4 separate regions of the Homo sapiens genome follow, and all the other regions are linked to region 2. Evidence: promoter capture Hi-C in 16 types of primary human blood cells and fetal thymus (Javierre and others, 2016). All regions are on one chromosome and are shown on one strand. Each heading gives the region's core, a stretch centred on a gene start or on the middle of the fragment in contact. The rest is flanking DNA. Distances are from core to core; before and after follow the strand shown.

Region 1 (2,700 bases), core at 74-2,573, 320 kb after region 2:
TTTAACCCAGTGAGCTATAATGTCTCACTAAGTGAGGGAGTCTTCTGATAGTTAAAATGCCTGTAAGTATACACCATGATTTATATCTGCCTTCTATTCAAAGTACCCACTATATTAAGCCAGGCCAGAAACCAAATCCAAACTTCAGAAGAAAGAATTCATAAGCTCATGTCGCCAAAAGTTTCCTGGGCAGTCCTTGCTTCAGGTTCAGCAGGATTGAGATGCTCATCAGAGATAGGGATTTATACTCATCTCTCAGACAGACATTCTTCCTGTAGTGGATGAAATGACAGTTGGCAGATAACATCTATTCCACCGACTTAGTCCACCCAGAAGTAATAGAACCATCTTTGATGGCAGCTCTAAGACGAATGTCCTGGAGATCCTCTCCATCAGCCCAACTTGGGGCATATGTGCACTCATTTAGGGTAGCGGTGGTTATAGTGTAAGGCAGGGTGACAAGCTCATCCCAGTTTGCCTGGGATTTGTCCAGTTTTAAAACTGAAAGTCCAAGGTCCCAGGAAACCCCCTCAGTTCCAAGCAAACCAGGAAGACTGGTCACCCTAGGTGGAGTCAGCCTTACTTTTTTTGTCTGGAATGAGTTCTCCACAGGAAAGAGCACTTCTGTTACAAGATGAAGAGGTGAGACGGGCTGAAGCAGGGGGAGTATTCATTTCGCCCAGGCCAGATCTATGTGATGCCTGGGTAGATGTGTGGGAAAAGCCCCATCCTGCCCACTTCTTGACTGTCTTTTCGATCAGGCTAGGCCTATGTGACTAGCCAGGGCTACCACTTCCTAGTGCTTCACTCCTCATCAAGTTCACCCAGGGCCCGAGGTTTCTCTCTCAGGATTCTTTGTACCCCCTCCTGGACCTTACCTACTCCTGGTTCCTGGCCTTGATCTGACTCTCCCCTCTGTGACCTGGTAGCTTGCTCTTTGGCTTTCATTCCTGTGCTCACCCTGGTTTCTGGCTTCTGTGTCTCTTTACCTCATAGTTACTGTGATCTGTCTGGTCTTCTGATGCCACTGCTGCATCAAGCTTGGATTTGGCCTGATATTTTATTGTTATTTCTTTTTGAGACAGGGTCTTGCTCTGTCACCCAGGCTAGGGTGCAGTGGTACATCACAGCTCACTACAGCCTTGACCTTTCAGGCTCAAGCAATCCTCCTATCTTAGCCTACCTAGTAGCTGGAACCACAGGTGTGTGCCACAATGCCCAGTTAATATTTTTTTATTTTTTGCAGAGGCACAGTCTCGCTATGTTGCCCAGGCTGATCTTGAACTCCTGGACTTAAGGGATCCTCCTGCTTTGGCCTTCCAAAGTGATAGAATTAGAGGCATGAGCCACCACGTCCAGTGGCCTGATATTCTTTCACTAGGGTGTTTGCGGCTATTTGCAGCTAAGATTTGCCAATGCCTCCCTACTCACGCAGTTCACCACTGCCCCCACCTGTTTCTAGGTGGAATTCAATATTGGTGTCCATCAAAATCTGCGCTAAATGTTGAGGTGGGAGCTTAATCCTTATACTCACGGCTCCCCCATTTCCCTATCTTACAATTCTGCAAGGTCGGTACTTTAATTCCCATTTCACAAATGAGGACGCTGAAGCTTAGGGGAGTGAAGTAATTTGCCCAAGTTCACAAAACCAGTCAAATTGGAAGTTAGAACTCACACTCTTGAGCTCTTTCTACTGTACCATGATGACTTGATCAGGTAATATGATGGTAGTAACTAGTTCTAGTAGCAAGGTCACAAATGGTAACTTCTAAAGACTATTATTTTTTAAAGTTCTGCTCAATGTATATATATCCTCATATTTTTGCCACTCAATAATTTCAAATATGTGATGCTTTTTAGAATTTTTAAATTAATTTCTACTACAATTTAAACAGTAGATAAATTATTTTAAGACATATTTTTTAAACTATGTTCCAGTAACTAACACCTTCTAGCCCTATAGTTCTACATTGATTCAACTTCAGTTACGAATATTACACAATTTCCCCTCATGAACCAAATATTGTTCTAAATAAGTAGTCTTCAGTGTGTGGCTAGTGACTTTCAGGGTTTGTGAGCTGTTTTCACAATAATGTTGATGTTATTTGCTTTTTCACTCTCATTGTCTCACAAATGCACAGTGGAGGTTTCCAGAAGCTACACGATCTAAGATTTTGTAATGGATTGACTGCAAAAGGAGTATGGGAATCCTAAATGTCTTCCCTTAAGTCAGACATTGGTTTTTTAAAAAAATGTAAAACCATGTCGTGTTCCTTACTACAGTTTTGTTTCATAAGATACGATTATCTTTATAAAAACATGTTTTTGTGTTAACATGTAATGAGTTTATTATTATTTCAAAATTAATAAATGTTTTAAATTTCTGAATTTTAACTTTTAATATGATTAATACCAATTGTAACTCACACAAACAAAAACTCCTTGGGGTCCTCAATAATTTTTAAAAGTATGAAGGAAACCAAAAAGTTTGAGAATAGCTGTTTCTAATCAAAAGATCTTTGTGGTGAAATTCTAAATTAAAAGCTACCATTAAATATGCTTCGATATTATTATCTCCAAAAAAACCCAATAACTTGTAATGAGAAACACCTGTCAGTCACTCATGGCTGTTCATCAACATACATTGTAGCTCACACTTGACTCCCTGTATTCGTGGCTCAAGCAGCACTACTGATGCTT
Region 2 (2,700 bases), core at 166-2,665:
AAGTATGAAAAGAGTTCAAGGTTCTAGGTCTGTCATTGACAGTGACCTCAGATACATGTGAATAATTTAGGTCTTAATAACTTTAGGTCTCCTCAGTGGGTAACATTCCTTTTTTTTTTTTTTTTTTTTTTGAGACGGAGTCTCGCTCTGTCGCGCAGGCTGGAGTGCAGTGGCACCATCTCGGCTCACCACAACCTCTGCCTTCTGAGTTCAACGGATTCTCCTGCCTCAGCCTCCCGAGTAGCTGGGATTACAGACGTGCGTCACCACGCCCGGCTAATTTTTGTATTTTTAGTAGAGACGGGGTTTCACCATGTTGGCCAGGCTGGTCTCAAACTCCTGACCTCAGGTATCCACCCGCCTCGGCCTCCCAAAGTGCTGGGATTACAGACATGAGCCACCGCGCCCGGCCAACATTCTTCATGATAACATTTACCCAAGCATATTTGCTAAGAATTGTGAAATTAACCTAGCGCATTTAAGAAGGAAAATAAAAACTATCCCAAATTAATAGTAACATTGTAACATAAATCAATACGATTATCTTGAAGAAATGGGATGATTCTAGTGAAGCACTGAAATGTTTTGTTGTTTGGCCTAAACGGTTTTTGCACCGAACAAGAAACACCCTTTCTTGGATTGTCTTACCTTAAGCTTAAGTGACTTGATTACAGGTTCAGCTTTCTAACTGAAAAATACTTTAACCTGGCCCTATCCAAGGTCATTTTCTATTAGAATCTCCTAAACAACCCTTTACATCTAATTTTTCTTGCTCAACACAACAGAAGCCTCTTAAACACTCCCTTTCCTATTTGCTTGTTAAATTCTCCAGTTTGCCACGGCAAAATGTCGGAGGAAGTTAACTTGTAAAGGAACGGCAAGAAGAGAACTGAAATCGAAGGCATAATCTAAATGCAGGTGTGTAATCAGGTCGCAGGCATAGGGCAGTGGCTTGGGAGTCCCGGATTTGTCACCTCAGTAATTTAACTACTACTGAGGGTTGAGCGAAGTCACCTCAGCTGCGCTAGGGCAGGAGATCTGGGCACTTGGTCCCACCCGCCACCTCTCTCTCCCCAGCCTCCAAGGAGCGGGGAGAAGGCTCTGCCCTGCCCAGTGATGCCCTGGTTCCGGGAGGAGAGTCCCCGCTCAGGGTTCCCGCTGAGTGCCTCCTAAGCGCCACCTCTGAGGAGACGTCCCTTCCAGCGCCCGAGGGGCGTCTTACCCACAACAAACAGCTGCTCCAGCGCCTCGACCGCGACCGAGGAGCCCAGGGTGGAGGGTAAGGTGCATAACTCCAGGGAGGGGCCAGTGGAGACGGCAGCCGCCTGCACCAGCTTCTCGCCAGCGCCCAGCCCTGGGGTCCAGGGGCTCAGGGCCATTTTGCCGCTCTACTTGAGCGCCTCCTAAGCCAGAGCCAAGGATTGCCGGTTGCCACGGGCAACGAGGACACCGAGGTCGTGGGGCGCCCCCTCGTGGCCCGCACCTCTAGTAGGTACCCTCCTGGTTCTCTAATTTTATCCACGATAATTAAGCAGTCTGGGAAGAATGACTCTCTCTTTAGCTAATTTTTCCCCTTTCAATTTCCATTGCGTTAGTTCAGGCCTGTATCTTTTTTGTGGGCCACTGGAATCATAATAATGATCACTTTTGAGCGCATCTTTGTGCCGGATACTGCAGGAGAACCTTTATATACAGTAGCTCACTTAATCTTCACAAGGACTTTGTGAGCAGGCTCTTTTAGTACCTCCACTTTTACAGACACGTAAACTGAGGCGCGGGCGACTAAATGAACGGCTCAAGACCACAAGAGGATAATATTGGATTTAAAGTGACGTCTGGGCCGGGCGAGGTGGCTCACGCCTGTAGTCCCAGCACTTTGGGAGGCCAAGGCGGGAGGATCACCTGTGGTCATGAATTCAAAACCAGCCTAATCAACATGGTGAAACCCCATCTCTACTAAAAATACAAAAATTAGCCGGGCGTGGTGGCGCGTGCCTGTAGTCCCAGCTACTCAGGAGGCTGAGGCAGGACAATCGCTTGAACCCGGGAGGAAAAGGTTATAGTGAACCGAGATCTCGCCATTGCACTCCAGCCTGGGCGACAAGAGCTAAACTCCATCTCAAAATAATAAAATAAAATAATAAAGTGAAGTCTGTATGACTCTTTCTACTATGCTACAAAACCTTCTTTTGTACTAATTTAGAACTTTCCTTGTATCTAGTACATCACTGAGCACATTTTGCCTTGAATCATAGTGATTTTTCTCTGTCTTCCCATCGAACTGTGAGCTCTGTGATGACGGGGACAGGAGGATATTATTCATTTTTCTCTGCATCTCCAAAATTCAGCTTAGCATGAGGCTTAGGTTGAGTCTGTCAGTTCCTTTTCCTCTGGTGGGTTAGAGAGAAGCAAAGGTGATTCAACCCTCCTCTTCTTTTCTCTACAGATGGCAAAATTGAAATTAGAATGATAGTAACAATGACAATAGCTATCAATTGTTAAATGCTTATTTTGTTCCAGGCACTGTTTTAAATACTTTGCAGTACCCCATTTAACCCTCACAAATAATCTTTTGAGCTAGGTATTATTGCCTGCTTTGCAAGTGAGGGCACTGAGCTACATCCTAAACCACTGTGCAACACTGCCTTGGAGGGGACACAGCATACCAGTAGCAGAACTAGTTCTAGAATCCAGGCCTCC
Region 3 (2,700 bases), core at 162-2,661, 460 kb before region 2:
AAAATTGGCATACAAGGGACCTACCTCAATATAATAAAAGCCATCTATGACAAACCCGCTGCCAACATAATACTCATGGGGAAAAGATGAAAGCATTCCCTCTGAGAACTGGAACAAAACAAGGAGGCCCACTCTCACCATTCCTCTTCAACATGGTATTGGAAGTCCTAGCCAGAACAGTCAGACAAGTGAAAGAAATAAAGGGCATCCAAATCAGTAAAGAGGAAGTCAAACTGTCACTGTTTGCTGATGGTATGATTGTTTACCTAGAAAACCCTAAACACTCCAGTTTCCAGATACAAAATTAATATACACAAATCAGTGGCTCTTCTATACATCAACAGCGACCACACTGAGAATCAAGTCAAGAACTCAACCCCTTGTAAAATAGCTGCAAAAATAAATAAATAAATAAATGAAAACCAAAAAAAAAAAAAAAAAAAAACACCTTAGGAATACACTTAACCAAGGAGGTGAAAGACCTCTACAAAGAAAACTACAAAACACTGCTGAAAGAAATCATAGACAACACAAACAAATGGAAACACATCCCATGCTCATGGATGGATAGAATCAATATTGTAAAAATGACCATACTGCCAAAAGCCATCTACAAATTCAATGCAATTCTCATCAAAATATCACCATCATTCTTCACGGAATTAGAAAAAAACTATTCTAAAATTAATATGGAACTGAAAAAGAGCCTGCACAGCCAAAGCAAGACACGTAAAAAGAACACATCTGGAGGCATCATATTACCTAATTTCAAACTATAGTATAAGGCCATAGTCACCAAAACAACATGGTACTGGTATAAAAACAGGTACATAGACCAATGGAACAGAACAGAGCACCCAGAAATAAACCCAAATACTTACAGCCAACTGATCTTTGGCAAAGCAATCAAAAACATAAAGTGGGGAAAGGACACCGTTTTCAACAAATGGTGCTGGGATAATTGGCTAGCCACGTAGGAGAATGAAACTGGATCCTTATCTCTCACCTTACACAAAAATCTACTCAAGATGGATTAAGAACTTAAATCTAAGACTTGAAACTATGAAAATTCTAGAAGATAACATTGGAAAAACCCTTCTAGACATTGGCTTAGGCAAGGATTTCATGACCAAGAACCCAAAAGCAAATGCAATAAATACAAAGATAAATTGCTGGGACTTAATTGAACTAAAGAGCTTTTTCACAGCAAAAAAGAACAGTCAGCAGAGTAAACAGACAACGCACATCATCAAAATCTTTAGCACTCATCCCGTAATCTTCATTAACTCCCCAAAGCCACCCAACTAATAGTAGTAGTGATAAAATTATTGATATGGGCAAGAGATCAGTTGCTGTGTGAAGGCATCTTTTTTTTTTTTTTTTTTTTTTTTTTTTTTTTTTTTTTTTTGAGACGGAGTCTCGCTCTGTCGCCCAGGCCGGACTGCGGACTGCAGTGGCGCAATCTCGGCTCACTGCAAGCTCCGCTTCCCGGGTTCACGGCATTCTCCTGCCTCAGCCTCCCGAGTAGCTGGGACTACAGGCGCCCGGCTAATTTTTTGTATTTTTAGTAGAGACGGGGCTTCACCTTCTTAGCCAGGATGGTCTCGATCTCCTGACCTCATGATCCACCCGCCTCGGCCTCCCAAAGTGCTGGGATTACAGGCGTGAGCCACCGCGCCCGGCCGTGAAGGCATCTTAATTACTAGCTCAGGTTGATTCCTGGGCTAGGCACTCAACCCTTTTGATAGGACTCTTCTCCATCTCAGGTTCTCCCTCTCTATTGGATTCTTCCAGATTCCAGCTAAGTTCAAGTATTCCTCATTGTAATATTCTCCCTTAACCTTGTATCCACTCTGGCAACTGCTGACTCTTCACAGCTAAAGTTAGTGAAAAGCTGATGGCAGTGGAAGAATGGTTCAGAGTTGTCTCTGGGGTCAAGAGAAGGACTTTCGCTACAGAGTCCTGTTGAAGATCCCTGTGAACCACCTACCTGAGGTCATCCCTAACACCCTGTCAACTCCCACTCCCACAGCAGGTTTTGGGAGTCTACTGAAATTATACATTTTTTCTCTTTAAGTCTGGCTTATAAAGAGAGACAAAAAGCTGGGAAAAACAAAGAGAAACTTCTATTCATTAAAAAGGTCGAGGAGAAACTTCCTGAAGGCATGAAGTTGGTCAGCTTTATCTGTCTAGTTACAAAGAGGTAGCCACAGAAGACTGCCATTTATCCAAGTGAGATGAAATAGAAAAATATAGCAAAAAAAAAAAAAAAAACAAACCCAAGCAGAACATAAATAAGGCTAGAGCCACCTGATAGCAGATTTGAACCTTCTGCAAATGACATTAATGGCTGAGGGCTGTTTCACTCACAGCACAACCTTGAATGGAGAAAATCACCTGCCAGAAATTCAGGTGCCATTGAAAGAAACCCAAGTGCATGAATATTTTTATATTAGAAAAAGACAAATTCAGGAGAGCCATGTGTTGGATGCAGAGCCCCAGAAGATTGCAAAGCAATAAAATAGAAAAACAGGCAACCAAAATTGCAGGTCTAAAAGGATGTAGCATTCCTTGTCATAGTGAAGGAGGAAAGAAAGCAAGCAAACAACTAAAAGCTAAAAAGTTCAAAGTCAAATAATATCTGAAAGAAAAGAGGCTGATTATAGATGGTGACTCTATAGCAAGACCAGAGTCATAGGA
Region 4 (2,924 bases), core at 238-2,737, 440 kb before region 2:
AAGGAGCCCCTGCAAGTGATCAGGGACTTGAGTGAGCACAGAGCGAACTAAAATATCAACTTGCAGAAGAGAAAGGGAGATTCTCACAGTAGAGGCTGTGGGATGGGCAGCCACAGTCAGAGTTGAGACGGAAAAATTTTGCTGAGTTTCAGAAGCTAGACAGCCACCGGCCAATGTTGAGGCAGGAACTATGGGAAAGCAACAGGGGAGACGCCAAAACCCAGCAGAGCAATGGTCCTGCAGTGAGCCTGTTGTGAGAACAGGCTTTGAGTGACAGCAACAGTGAATGCCAGTGGAGAAGTAATTGCAGATCAAAGGTTTCTCTGAGAATGTCAAGGTTATGCATAAGTCCTCCAGAGCCTCTGACCACTCCCAGGGAGATGGGAAGGAAAAGGAAGATGAGGTGAAACAAAATGACTAGGTACCCCCAAAGAGACTGAGTTTAAGGTAAATGCAGTGGTTCTCAACCAAGGACAATTTTACACCTCCAGGGACATTTGATATGATCTGGAGACATTTTGTCGTTGGCACAACTAGGAAGGGCAGGAGGCTGCTGGCATCTTATGAGTGGAGGCCAGGGATGCCGCTAAACATCCCAAAACATGTGGGACAACCTTCACAACAAAGAATTATCCTGTCCAAAATGTGAAGAGTGTTGAGGTTGAGAAACCCTGAGCCAAAGTAACTGAGTTACTACTGTCGGCAGAAATGAGACTATGAGAAATGTTTTAAAAAGAAATTTACACTTTTGCACACCCAAATTCCTATAACTGAACACACACACACACACACAATAATACAAAGATGGAGGTTTGAAGAAAATGGGGGAGTGGAAGTTAAAATGGTAGTACACAGCCTAAGAAATGTCAAATTTTTTTTTAAGCTCACAACAGCACTTTTTTTTTTAGGCAAGGAGAAGTCTTGCTGAAAAGTTACAAGCAGTCAAAACGTGACTGTTAGTGGCACTATTTTGACCTTGTAGATTTTGCTTCTCCTTGGTCAAAAAAAGGGTATGCACACTACACTTTCCCCAGCTGGGCAAAAAAGAGGGCAGAGGAAACTGGAATAGACTTCTACTCTACTGACACTGCTCCTCAGACCCAACATCAAGCTAGAAAAGCCCTGGCTGCTCAGTCTAGTGGTTGTTGTTCCACCACTGAGTGACACAGGCCATGCTATATTTGCAAGAAAAAAATGAGCAGGAAAAACAAGTGTAGGTCACTGGGGATGAGCAGGCATCCACCCCTTCAAAACTCTGCATGGAAGAGGTAATCCTTATAAGAGGCACAGCTTACCAAGGCACAGACCCTCCAGTTCTTGTTGTAGCTGAATAAGATGGTAATATCCTGGCTGCTTGGTTCAAAGTCTGTGACTCAGCAGTGCATTCTGGTATCACAGACCTGGGGATCACCATCAAGTTCCTCTGCCTGGGGAACCGGATCCAAACCTGGATCGCCTGGCTATGATCACCTGGCTATGATTGCCTTGATCTTGGGATCCTCCAGGAGGGAAGGGTCCTCAGCCTTGGCCCAGAGGCTGTCAGGAGAGCCAAGGGGACTACAGGCAGTCACCATAATGCCTTTAGAGTGGCAGTACTGGATTAACTTCTGTGTGAGGCACAGGTGGCACTCCATTTGGTTAACTGCTGGCTTATACTTTAACCCAGGTTTGTTTAAGATCCTCTCAACCTGGAGATGGTTGAAGGTGGAGATGCCAGTAGCTTTCACCAGCCCTTCATCCACCAGCTCTTCATGGCCACCCGTGTGTCCACAATGTCAGTGTCACTGGGAACCATGTTGCCTGACTCATCCAATGGGAAGGATTCCTTCCCACGCTTAAAGCTGGCTGGCCAGTGAACAAGGTAGTAGTCCAGGTAGCCCTGCTTAAGGTCACTGAGCATCTTCTGACAGGCTCCTTTCACCAGGCCCTTCCCATGGTATGTGCACCAGAGTTTGCTGATGATGAAGAGCTCCTCACGCTTCACCATCTGCCCCCTGAGCTTCTCCTGAATGGCCACCCCTATCTCATTCTCATTCTCGTACCTGGGCTCAGTGGATGTGGCGGTACCTGATATCAATCGCCACCTTCACAGCCTTGGTCACCTGGCCTGGAGGGGACATTCAGATGCCCAGTCCCAGGATGGCCATCTTGGTGCCATTGTTGAGCATGAGGTGGCTGGCCATGGATGCAGTGCTTCCCAGACCCCTTCCCAGAAACATGCACAGAAACTTCAATATTTAAATATTAGGTAGGAAAAACCAGTAAAGAAAGACTTGGAAGAGGCCAGGTGTGGTGGCTCATGCCAGTAATCCCAGCACTTTGGGAGGATGAGGCGGACGGATCACAAGGTCAGGAGATCGAGACCATCCTGGCTAACACAGTGAAACCCCATTTTTACTAAAAATACAAAAAATTAGCTGGGCGTGGTGGTGGGTGCCTGTAGTCCCAGCTACTTGAGAGGCTGAGGCAGGAGAATGGCATGAACCCAGGAGGCGGAGCTTGCAGTGAGCTGAGATTGCACCACTGCACTCCAGCCTGAGCGACAGAGCGATACTCTATCTCAAAAAAAAAAAAAAAAAAAGAAAAAGAAAAAGACTTGGAGGAGGGACAGCAAGGTACAAAAGACACCAAGAGAGTGTATATTATCACAACAGCTAAGGAAAAAGGACAGACGAGCTCAAGAAGGACAGAGTAAACTGTGTAAAATGCCCTAAGAAGTCAAGATGATAAGCTAAATGTATAGATTAGTTGAATTCTGCTTCTTGTCTATTAGGGGAGGTGGGGAGGAATGGGATCCAGAGAACACATGAAAGGATTCACTTTAGATGGAAGAGATTCCTCCTCCACTGGAACAGGAGAGAAGAGAATAGGTGCTAATACAAGTAGGTTTATAAATTGTATTGCAATAAATTGTGAATTTCCCA

The links. Contacts are between HindIII fragments. The CHiCAGO score rates a contact against its expected background, and 5 or more counts as called.
Region 1: a fragment that was not itself captured here is called in contact with the fragment with the promoter of CCDC175 in region 2 in 2 of 17 cell types (M1 macrophages and monocytes); the score reaches 8.0 in M1 macrophages.
Region 3: a contact is called between a fragment that was not itself captured here and the fragment with the promoter of CCDC175 in region 2, in 3 of 17 cell types (naive CD4 T cells, total CD4 T cells and total CD8 T cells). The highest score is 6.9, in naive CD4 T cells.
Region 4: a fragment that was not itself captured here is called in contact with the fragment with the promoter of CCDC175 in region 2 in 3 of 17 cell types (total CD8 T cells, naive CD4 T cells and naive CD8 T cells); the score reaches 6.4 in total CD8 T cells.

The regions. Positions count from the first base shown.
Region 1 is chr14:59,896,517-59,899,216 of GRCh38, forward strand. No RefSeq gene overlaps it. Among named protein-coding and RNA genes, the nearest start is that of LRRC9, 22 kb to the right of the region's middle. The HindIII fragment of the contact is 571 bases long and covers 1,039-1,609 here.
Region 2 is chr14:59,575,397-59,578,096 of GRCh38, forward strand. It overlaps CCDC175 (coiled-coil domain containing 175), which reads right to left and starts at 1,416. Exons shown (of 20, transcript NM_001164399.2): 1 at 1,223-1,416. The coding sequence starts at 1,379. The HindIII fragment of the contact is 5,306 bases long and covers 653-2,700 here.
Region 3 is chr14:59,111,661-59,114,360 of GRCh38, forward strand. No RefSeq gene overlaps it. Among named protein-coding and RNA genes, the nearest start is that of DAAM1, 76 kb to the right of the region's middle. The HindIII fragment of the contact is 7,010 bases long and covers 1-2,700 here.
Region 4 is chr14:59,134,239-59,137,162 of GRCh38, forward strand. It overlaps the pseudogene AKR1B1P5. Among named protein-coding and RNA genes, the nearest start is that of DAAM1, 53 kb to the right of the region's middle. The HindIII fragment of the contact is 8,528 bases long and covers 1-2,924 here.